Linked DNA regions of Homo sapiens: region 1 is linked to region 2. Evidence: promoter capture Hi-C in human tissues and cell types (Jung and others, 2019). All regions are on one chromosome and are shown on one strand. Each heading gives the region's core, a stretch centred on a gene start or on the middle of the fragment in contact. The rest is flanking DNA. Distances are from core to core; before and after follow the strand shown. Region 1 overlaps UROS (uroporphyrinogen III synthase). Region 2 holds the start of DOCK1 (dedicator of cytokinesis 1).

Evidence for each region. The method cuts DNA at HindIII sites, captures the fragments that hold promoters and counts their contacts. A contact is called where the count stands out against the background at its distance.
Region 1: a fragment that was not itself captured here is called in contact with the fragment with the promoter of DOCK1 in region 2 in 1 of the 25 tissues and cell types used here (IMR-90 fibroblasts).

What each region holds. Positions count from the first base shown.
Region 1 is chr10:125,815,568-125,820,460 of GRCh38, reverse strand. It overlaps UROS (uroporphyrinogen III synthase), which reads left to right. Exons shown (of 10, transcript NM_000375.3): 2 at 3,936-4,024; 3 at 4,201-4,284. The coding sequence starts at 3,962. It overlaps MIR4484 (microRNA 4484), which reads right to left and starts at 721; the gene lies at 639-721. RefSeq lists a cis regulatory region at 3,758-3,770. The HindIII fragment of the contact is 5,078 bases long and covers 878-4,893 here.
Region 2 is chr10:126,903,468-126,908,290 of GRCh38, reverse strand. DOCK1 (dedicator of cytokinesis 1) reads right to left here and starts at 2,863. Exons shown (of 52, transcript NM_001290223.2): 1 at 2,728-2,863. The coding sequence starts at 2,773. LOC105378550 (a long non-coding RNA gene) reads left to right here and starts at 2,913. Exons shown (of 2, transcript XR_946449.3): 1 at 2,913-3,731; 2 at 3,849-4,823. LOC124900289 (a long non-coding RNA gene) reads right to left here and starts at 2,560. Exons shown (of 2, transcript XR_007062336.1): 1 at 1-2,560. RefSeq lists an enhancer at 1,094-1,842. The HindIII fragment of the contact is 5,553 bases long and covers 1-4,823 here.

The sequences.
Region 1 (4,893 bases), core at 2,167-4,666, 1.1 Mb after region 2:
GTGGGCAGCATCCAGTCTGTTGAGGGCCTAAATAGAACAAAAAGCCAAAGAAGGAAGAATGTGTCCTGTCTCCTCCTGCATGCTTGATCTGGGATATCTTCTGCCCTTGGTGCTCCTGGTGCTGAGGCCTTCACACTCAGGCTGGAACCTACACCCTTGGCTCTCAGGCCTTCAGGCTACAACACCAGCCTTCCTGCTAACAAGTCTCCAGCTTGCAGACAGCAGATCATGGGACTTCTCAGCCTCCATAACTGCATGAGCTAATACCTTATAACAAATCCCTTTCTAGATGTAAATATATGCCATTGGTTCTGTTTCTCTGAAGAACTCTAATACACCCAGTAATTAACATGAGTAAATGCTCAGTAAAAGGGTGACTGTTGTTATTGCTGATACCCAGAACACCATGACATAGAAGGTACGGGTTTGAGGTTTGGTTCTTTCTTACCAGTAAGGTGCCCTTATTCCAGTCATTTTTTTTTTCTTTTCTTTTTCATCAATGATTGATGAACATAAGTATGAGGGTAAAATGGCAGAGCAAGCATTAGACTGTAAATCTAGAGACAGGTTGAGCCCTCTTTTTACCAGTGCCGAGGTGAGTTTCATGTTGGAAGCTTCAGGAGCAGCTTCATTTCTGCTGGGGCTTCTCCCGCCTTTTTCCCCCTCAATGGGAAATAACAGGTTTCGTTATTTTCATTGGAAAAAAAGGCAGAGGAAACCCCAGACACTGCACGGTTTTTAGGCCCTAGCCTCACCAGTCTCAAGCCTCCTATCAAGGAGGGCCATATAGTGCCTCTGATCTGCTTGATGCAGACCCTAGGGTCCTTCCCACTCCCATGAGCCACCCACCAGAGTGAGCTAAGAAATCAACTGGCAGAGAGCAGAGTCACGTATGGCCAAGAGGAATTGTTCTGGGGGTTGTTTAGTAAGCAGGAGAGAGGGAGGAGAAGAAAAACTGCACAGGGATCAGATGCCTCCAGCAGAAGAAAGCGAGGCATAGAGATCCCTTACCATCTGAGTCACGTGGCACCAAATATGTTACCAGTGGCAAATCAGTAGACACCTGCAGCAACCTCAATCTTGTCTCCTCAGAAGAAAATTCAACTGGGGGCATAAGGCAGAAAAAGTGACCGAGGCAAGCTTCAGAGCAGGAGTGGAAGTTTATTTTAAAAAACTTTAGGCCGGGTGCAGTGGCTCACACCTGTAATCTCAACACTTTGGGAAGCCAAGGCAGCCGGATCACGAGGTTAAGAGATGGAGACCATCCTGGCCAACATGCTGAAACCCCATCTCTACTAAAATACAAAAATTAGCTGGGCATGGTGGCGCATGCCTGTAGTCCCAGCTACTCAGGAGGCTGAGGCAGGAGAATCGCTTGAACCCGGGAGGCGGAGGTTGCAGTGAGTTGAGATTGCACCACTGCACTCCAGCCTGGGCGACAGAGCAGGACTGCATCTCAAAAAACAACAACAAAAAACTTTAGAACAGGAAAGAAAGTAGAGTATGCTTGGGAGAGACCTAAGCAGGCAACTTGAAGGACAAGTGCTCCATTTTACTTTAAGGAAAATTAATCATTCTTTCTGTTTCAAAGATGCTGGGTAAAATTGAAATTGTTGTTTTCCCACAAGGTGAGCAAATAATGAGCATCTACTACAGGAAAGAAAGTCCATCAAAAAAGCCAACAATGGAGAGGCTCACAGCCCCTTTCCAATGTACAGGAATCTGAAACTGAGACTGAGGCAAGAGCAGCCTAGACCAGAACCCAGACACTGGCCCTCCTGTGCAAACACCCTCTACTCCACCAAGCCTCTTCCTAAAGCCCAAGGTGGCGACATGTTAACCTATCTGTGCACGCTTCTCAATTGATTTCTTTCCCAATCAGCCTGATAATATGTGACTCTAGCACAGCAAAGAATCATCAACAACAGAACCTTTTAATTTTATATTATTATTATTATTATTATTATTTAGACAAGATCCTTCTCTGTCACCCAGGCTGGAGTGCAGTGGCACGATTATAGCCCACAGCAACCTTGAACTCCTGGGCTCAAGTGATTCTCCCACCTCAGCCTCCTGCGTAGTTAGGACTACAGGGATGCGCCACTATGCCCGGCTCCTTGTTAACAACTTTTAAAATTTTTGTAGAAATGGGGTCTCGCTATGTTGTCCAGGCTGATCTTGGACTCCTGCTCTCAAGCAATCCTCCTGCCTCAGCCTGCCAAAGTGCTGAGATTACCAGGCATGAACCACTGTCCTGGCCTAATTTTATATTAGAAATGCTTTCAGTGTTTGGGAATGATTGTATACAGGATTAAAAAAGAAGACAAATGCTTTCAGTGACGTCAGATAAAGGATAAGGGTAGTAGTTGGATTTTTATTTGCAACACATCTCAGGGAGCTCTTTATTATCCAGAAGCCTAAACTTCATGCCAGCATCGGTTTTATTACCTAAGAGAACCACAGATTAGAACCCAGGAGAAATATTTTCTCTGTTTACAATGGGTAGATTGATTTTTCTTTGGGGTGTTTGCATAACTAAACTAAGCACTTTGTACTACAGTGATACTTTATATTTTTATACCTCTATTTTTCCCAAACATTTTCGTATTCAAAGTGTATGTGAGGCATAATATAGCGTAGGGGGTTAAAAGCACAGACTTTGGAGCCAGACTGGTTGGGTGTGAATCCCAGCTCTGCCACGTAGCAATTCTGAGACTTTGGATGAGTGTCATCCTCTGTACACCTCAGCTTCTTCCTAAGCCTCGTAGGTGGACTTAATGCATGTGAAGCTCTTAGAATAGTGCCTGGGAGGCAGTAAGTTCAATAGATCTGTTCGCTGTTTTTATCTTCTTTGAGTCACTCAGCAACCCTAAGGCTTGGTAGGGCAGAGGTTATTCCCATTTAACATGGGAAAAAACAAGATCACACCATGGTTAAGTCATAAAGCTGAGACCAGAGCTCAGGTCCGTTGGCCCTTAGTCCTGTGCTTATTCTGTGACACCATACTTCCTTCCTTATATTATCACCTTAGAGAAGGGAGAAGGTAAAAGGGCAAGCAGAAATGAGGAAAAGAGAGGAGAAATACATCTATAAGGCTGGGTGCAGTGGCTCACTCCTGTAATCCCAGCATTTTGGGAGGCCGAGGCAGGTAGATCACCTGAGCTCAGGAGTTCGAGACTAGCCTGGGCAACATGGTGAAACCCTGCCTCTAAAAAAAAAAAAAAAAAAAAAAAAAATACATCTATAAACAAGAAGCTTCCCGTTGCTATTAAGATAAGAGCCACATTCCCTAATATGACCCAACGAGACCCAAAAGAATTCTAGTGTGAGCATCTTTATGTTAATCTTTGGACACATTTATCAGTATTGCTTTAGTATTCTTAGAAGTGAAATTACAGGAAGAAAGAAGATGAAGTATATAAAGCTTTTGATGTCAACAAATCGTTTTCCATGTTGTTAGACTCTCTTATGATACTTGACGTTTAGAAAACATCATTTAATAAGTAGAAGAGTCAATATAATTATTTCCCAAAGTGCTTATGAGCTACTTAGCATATTTATCTTGAAATGGAAAAGCTATTTATCTCCTTAAAACATAAGATACCAATTTCTCTGTTTGTTGTTGATACAACCCTAAATTTACATCAGTTCTCTTTCCGGAACCATAAACGTTTGGCATAGGACACTTGGCTTTCACTAATGGTTTCATCTGTCTTTCCAAGTGATATCAACTGCTAACATGCTCTTTCTTGGCCTTATCAGTGACAGGGGTCTTCAGAAAGAACAAGCCCATTAGTGCTAAGTCATGGTGTAGGAGGGATAGGTCTCTTCCACAAGCATTTGATTGCCTTCTTCTTGTGTACCGTCCCCATCGGAAATTGCTTAGGAAGAGTCTTTGAGATCTAATTAAGATCTGTTTCCTTGCTCTGTCGCAGTGCCCTATAAGGACTGCCAGGCAATAATGAAGGTTCTTTTACTGAAGGATGCGAAGGAAGATGACTGTGGCCAGGATCCGTATATCAGGGTAAGTGGCCTGAGACTCCTTATCCCACAGTGTCCTTTCTACTGAGTCAAGGGGCCTGGAGCAGGCAGGGATGGGTTTTGCAAAACCTCAGAGGAACTGACGCAGAATAAATTGTTAATGTTCCCTTATTTTAAAAACAGCCCTAGCCAATCCAGAACTATATTCTTTCATTTCAGGAATTAGGATTATATGGACTTGAAGCCACTTTGATCCCTGTTTTATCGTTTGAGTTTTTGTCTCTTCCCAGTTTCTCTGAGAAGGTAAGGCCTGTTGTGACTGAGCACCATGTTAGTGTTTGATTTCTCCCTTGCCAGCTGAAGCCAGAGAGGGACTATTTTACTGTCTTCTTATTTTATTCCCAAACTTTAAAACATGGCAGCATAACTTCACCTGGCTCCAGGAGGCTGCTGCTGTTGGGAGGTTCTGACTGAGCCTCTATCAGCCCCTCCAGAAAGCCACCCAGACTCAGAGATTGGGGCCCAGGAGAGCAGGTCATGGTGAGAGCAGCAAACCTGCATTGCTCTCAGCAGTCCTAGAACCCTTTCACTCATCCTCTCATTTAATCTACCCCTCACCCCCAACTTCTGCAAAGCAGGCCAGGGAGGTATTATTTTCCCGTTTTAGAGATTGGGGTCTCAAATTAGGCAACTCAGCTAAGACCTCTAGCAAGTAAGAGACAGGGCTGGGACTCAAACCCAGGGCTTCTGCCCACAACTTCAGTTCTTCTTCCAGTGAGGAGTGATAAAAATTGCAGGAGACAAGTCCAGTAAAGCCTTCCAAATGCTTCAGAGTGAAAATTCAGTGCCCACAGCTTCAGTGAAGTCAGATATGTACAGCAGCCTAGTGCCTGGCTCAGAGTAAATGTTCGG
Region 2 (4,823 bases), core at 1,614-4,113:
CAATCACCTACTGGCAATAAATCCCTACATCCCAGCACCTACATCCTTCCCAGTCAGCATCCTTCGTGAGAACCACTAAAATCCTCCCACTGCACACTTGCAGACAAGTGGGGAGCCTGGGATGGCCCCATTGCGCTCATGCTCAGCTCCCCTCCCACCCTCCCTGATGGGGGACTCTGGTTAAAGTGCCTCTGGATGCCGATGGAGTGGTGCTGTCTCATTACTGTCTACCCAGCAAGCTGTCATCTGCACCCAGTGAGAGGAAGCACAGCAGCCACTCTCTTCTCTACCTTCAGCCCTTCACATCTTTCCTAGCATTTCCTGGCAAAACCATCCCAGATACTTTTCGCCTTTTAAAATTTTCCAACAGTTTTCTATTTTTTCTTTTTTTAACTTTTTTAAATTTATTTTTTCTTAATAATCAAACATGGAGTTTTCTTAAAACCAAAGTATTAGCAAGAGGTGTGATGTTAGAAGTCACCACCATGAGCGCTGGTGAAGCTTCTGGAAGGTGTGAGACTCAAGCGCACCGCCCTGTTCTGGCCCTCAGCCTCCTCCCCAGCAAGGAGACCCCGTTCTCCCATCTACGAACATTCTTTTCAGTCTTCTCCAGACCATCCAGCTACACTATAGGATCCTAACTGACACCATCCAGGTCTCTCTGGGGGCAGACGAAGGGTAACAAGGTCTCTTAAAATGTGGCGTCCCAAAGAGAAGCCCTCCCCATCTGCAGGCAAGCACAGGACACTGTGGCAGCTGAACCCAGGGCGGCCACACTTCACACCCAGGAGGCACCACTTACTGGTGATGTGACCTCAGGCAAGCAATCCACCTCTTCCTTGCCTCTGTAGAATGGGAGCAGTGATGGCCCCCACTGCACCCCGATGGCCCCCACTACACCCCCAATGGCCACTACTGCACCCTGGCCATGGGCACCTAAGTTGCTTCCTCAGCAGGGCCAGGGCTATGGGATGCCTGCTCCTCTGCCAGCCTCCTGCCTCTCCTGCCTATCCACCTCTTCCTCTCTCTCTGCGTGTGCTGGTGCTAGGTTCCCTGGGAGTCAGTCCTCAGCTCTCTCCTCTACACACTACCCCCGCAGGGACCCCCACTGTCGCCACAACCCAAGCATTCTCAGGTGGAATATCCACCCCGAACCTCTCGCCTCTGATGCAGACTGAAGGCCCGTGCCAAGTGCCCCAGACTGAATCCATTAGGTGGTGCACAGGGTGCAGGTTACACACTGAGTCTGCAGTCAGATGAGCTCTCCTGCACTTTTGTGAATGTGTCTGGGCCTCAGTTTCCTCATCTGCAAAATGGGGAGATGGGGAGGAAGCTCAGTCATAATGGTCCTGAAGCAAGGAGGCCCCCTATGCCTCCCAGCATGTGGAACAAGCTAAGTGCAGGCCCGGTAGGACCCAGGGCTGTCCCAGGACTGTCCCCGTGACCACTGTCCAGCTGGCTCCGTGGTCAGGGCATACTGTAAGTCATTGACAGCAGAGAGAAGCAACTGTTCACAGAAAGGAGAGCGCTCCGGGGACAAGGGCTGCCAGGGCGCTTCCCAAAAGTCAGAGAGCCAGGATTCGAACCACACCAGCAGAGGGTCGGGCAGGTCCAGCACGGGCCAGGCACAGAATGGGCGCGGGGCTGCTGCTGAGACGGTGCCCTTGGAGGACACAGCCTGGGCTGTGGGAGGCGAGACCACCAAAGGTCTTCCCAGTCGGGTCGAGTGGCCTGGATGAGGCAGGCGGTCAAGGATGTCTGTGGATGGTGGGACGGGGAATAGCAAGCCCGAAAACCAACTGGGAAGATCCCGGACCCGGGAGAGCAGGAGAGTAGCCACGGCCCAGTCCCGACACCAGGCGCGCAGATCACGAAGAGGTGGGCGTCCGCAGGCCTCGGCGACCGGCTGCGGGTCCCCGGGGCGCAAGGATGCGGGTCCCACGCGGACGGGCCCGTCTATTCAGCCGCAAGGGAAAGCCTCCCTCTCAGGAATGCGCACTCGGGTCCGAAATGTAAACTTGCAACCCGACTCCTTCCATCCCCCCTCGGAAGCGACAAAGAGCCGCGGAGCAAAAACAGGCCCCCGCTCTCCCGGAAGGGTCTCCAGGCCTGGGGCCACTGGGGCGCTCGGCCGCTCGCCTTCTCTCCAAGGTCCCACACGGTCCCCAGCGAGACCGCCGAGGGGCAAGGGGCGCTGGCCACCCAGGTCGCGCCCCCTCCTCCCCGCCGGGAAAGGGCGGAATTATCCGCTGGGACCGCGCCGACCTGAGCCCGCCCACCCAGAGCCCGGACGCGGGACGCAAGTTCATCCAAGAAGCAGAAGCCGCCGCGAGACAGTGACCCCTGGGCTTCCCTGACGGGCCCAGCCGCGCAGATAGCAGCGGCCGGGGCCGGGGAGTTGGGGGTAGCCCGGGGGGCTCCACGGCAGAGGTCCAGAGGAGCGGGCGTCGGAGGGGACACCCTAGGGAGGGACGCGCCCGCCCCCATTCCCACCCCACCCCCTCGTGTTCCCGACCCGCATCCCCGGGGCTGGAGCTGACGCCGCCGGGGGCGCGGGGCGGCCGGGGTCGCCGGGCATTGCGAGCGGGGCGGCGGCGCGGGCGCGGGCGGAAGCGCCTCTCCCCGGCCCGGCGGCCGCTCGGGGCGGCGGCAACAGGCGCCCGGCACACCCGCCCCGCCGGAGCCTGGGCTTGGGGCGAGAGGCGCGGCGGCGGCGGCGCTGCTCACCCACGCCGTACTTCTCCTCGCGCTTGGTGGGCACCCAGCGCGTCATGGCGCCGCCGGAGCCGCCGCGGGTCGGGCAGGAAACTCCGCGTCTAGGCCGCCATTTTCCATTCCTTTCGAGCCGCGACAGGATGGGGAGGAAAAAGTTTGCGGCGGAGGCGGCGTCATGTGGGACGGGGCGGGCGGAGCGTCGCGGGCCGGATGGGAAAGGCCGGGAGCGCCGGCGGGAGGCGGGACGGCCGCGGGCTCTGCGCCCGCCCTCGGCGCGGACCCTGGGCCCCGACCCCGCGGTCGCCGGGGCTCCCCTTCCTCTGTCCCAGTGCGCCCAGCCCCGCGCTCCGCACCCGGGCACCCCCGCGGGGTTCTCCTGAGTTCCTGGAGCTCCCGGGGCTGGCGCTCACGCCGTGAGAGGGGTGCGCCCTTAGGGGGGCGGGACGGACGGGGGGTTTCTACGGGAGGTAGGAAACGGGCGGCTTGCAAGGCGCGGGCTTAGGCCGGAGCCTGGTGGTGCGAGGTCCCCAGCTCGGATTTCTCCCTGGTGGAGAGTCCCGGAGCAGAACAAACCAGCAGAGGCTCTGGAAAGGGTCCTCCTGAGCACGTGGCTCATTCATTCATTCGACAAACGTTACCTGAGCGCCTGCCCACTCATTGCCCGAGTGTGCTGGGAGCGCCGCACCAACTGCCTGGTAGGTGGGAGAAGGGACACGTCAGGTAACAAACAGCACAGGTAAGTGCCGGCCACTCAAATGGGGTGGAAAGAGGTGGCACAGCGCTGCCGAGGGAGTGCGTTCCAGACAGGTGACCTCTTGCTTGGGTGCTGAATGAGTGGAGTTTTCCAGAGAGACCAAGAGGAAGCAGCCGCAGAAACCTCAGCCCAGCTGGGCTTGCAGAAGCTAATGCTAGAATAGTTGTGGGACTCAGGATCTGCTGAAGTCGGGGGAAGAGAGAAGTAGGGAAAGGAAAGCCCAGGCCACGCGTGGGGCTCAGGAACGGCATCCTCGCCCGAGGTGGGAGTTCTTCTCAGGCCCTGGTGTTTCCCATGACAGTAAAAGGTGGGGGCTTCAGATTTCTCCAAGGGAAAAGTTAAAGCAACACACACCTATTTATTTTTACTGTAATTTCAGAAAAGAGAGGTTAAAACCAAGACATGGACAAAGCCTCCGAATGAAGGCAGCCCTTTAAATGGAATAAATTTGGTTTCATGGCACATTAATGGGGTGTCTTCTCTCCGAAGACACAGAGACAACTACAGTAGGTCTGGGGGCCGTCAGGGATTGGAGGAACGAAGGTAAGAAAAGGAAGAAGGTAAGAAAAAGAGGTCCCTACCTCTGTGAGGTAGGGACAGTGCTGAACAGCAGGGCTGGGAGAGCCCACAGGGAGGTGGCCAGGATGGCCACAGGGCCTGGGGAGGACCAGGTGGGGCACCATCCTGCGGTAGAGAATGCCCGTCACCTGCCCTAGGGGCCACCCAGAATGCAGATTAAATAAGTATTTGGGAATGGCACAGGAGCTTTTCCATTTTCGTGGGTTAGAGGAAAGCTGCTGCGTTCAAGAGGATAACGTGGGACCTGAGCATTCTGGTAAGTCAACCCCACATTCATGGAAAGCCACGGGCTCTGTTTTACTGATAAGGAACTGAAGTCCCACAGAGGAAGTGGCCAGGCTCACTCACACACAGCATGCACTTGAAGCTTTCTGTGGAAATCAGAAACCTCCGGGGCTCAGGCGCTGTAGTGGTGGCCTGGTGACTCTGACCCCTTGAAGGAGAAGCATCTGTGAAGGTGCTGTCCAGGACAAGTAGGGTGCTCTACGGTAAAGGACATGGTGGCCTGACCTGCTCCAGAGCAGGGAGGCCTCCCTTGAGGAAATAAGATAAACCCAGACTTTAAGGATAAGCAGAAACCAGCTAGGTGAACTGGAGTGGGAACAGCACGTGAAAAGGCCCTGGTTTAGGAAGGAGCACCACTCCTTCAGAGCACAGAAAGGCCAGGATGGCCGAAGCATAGGGAACAACAGGAAAGTGACATAAATTGAGGCTGCAGAGGTAGAAGAAGGGCCTTATTGGTCGTGCTAGGAATTTGGAATTCTGCAAAGAAGCC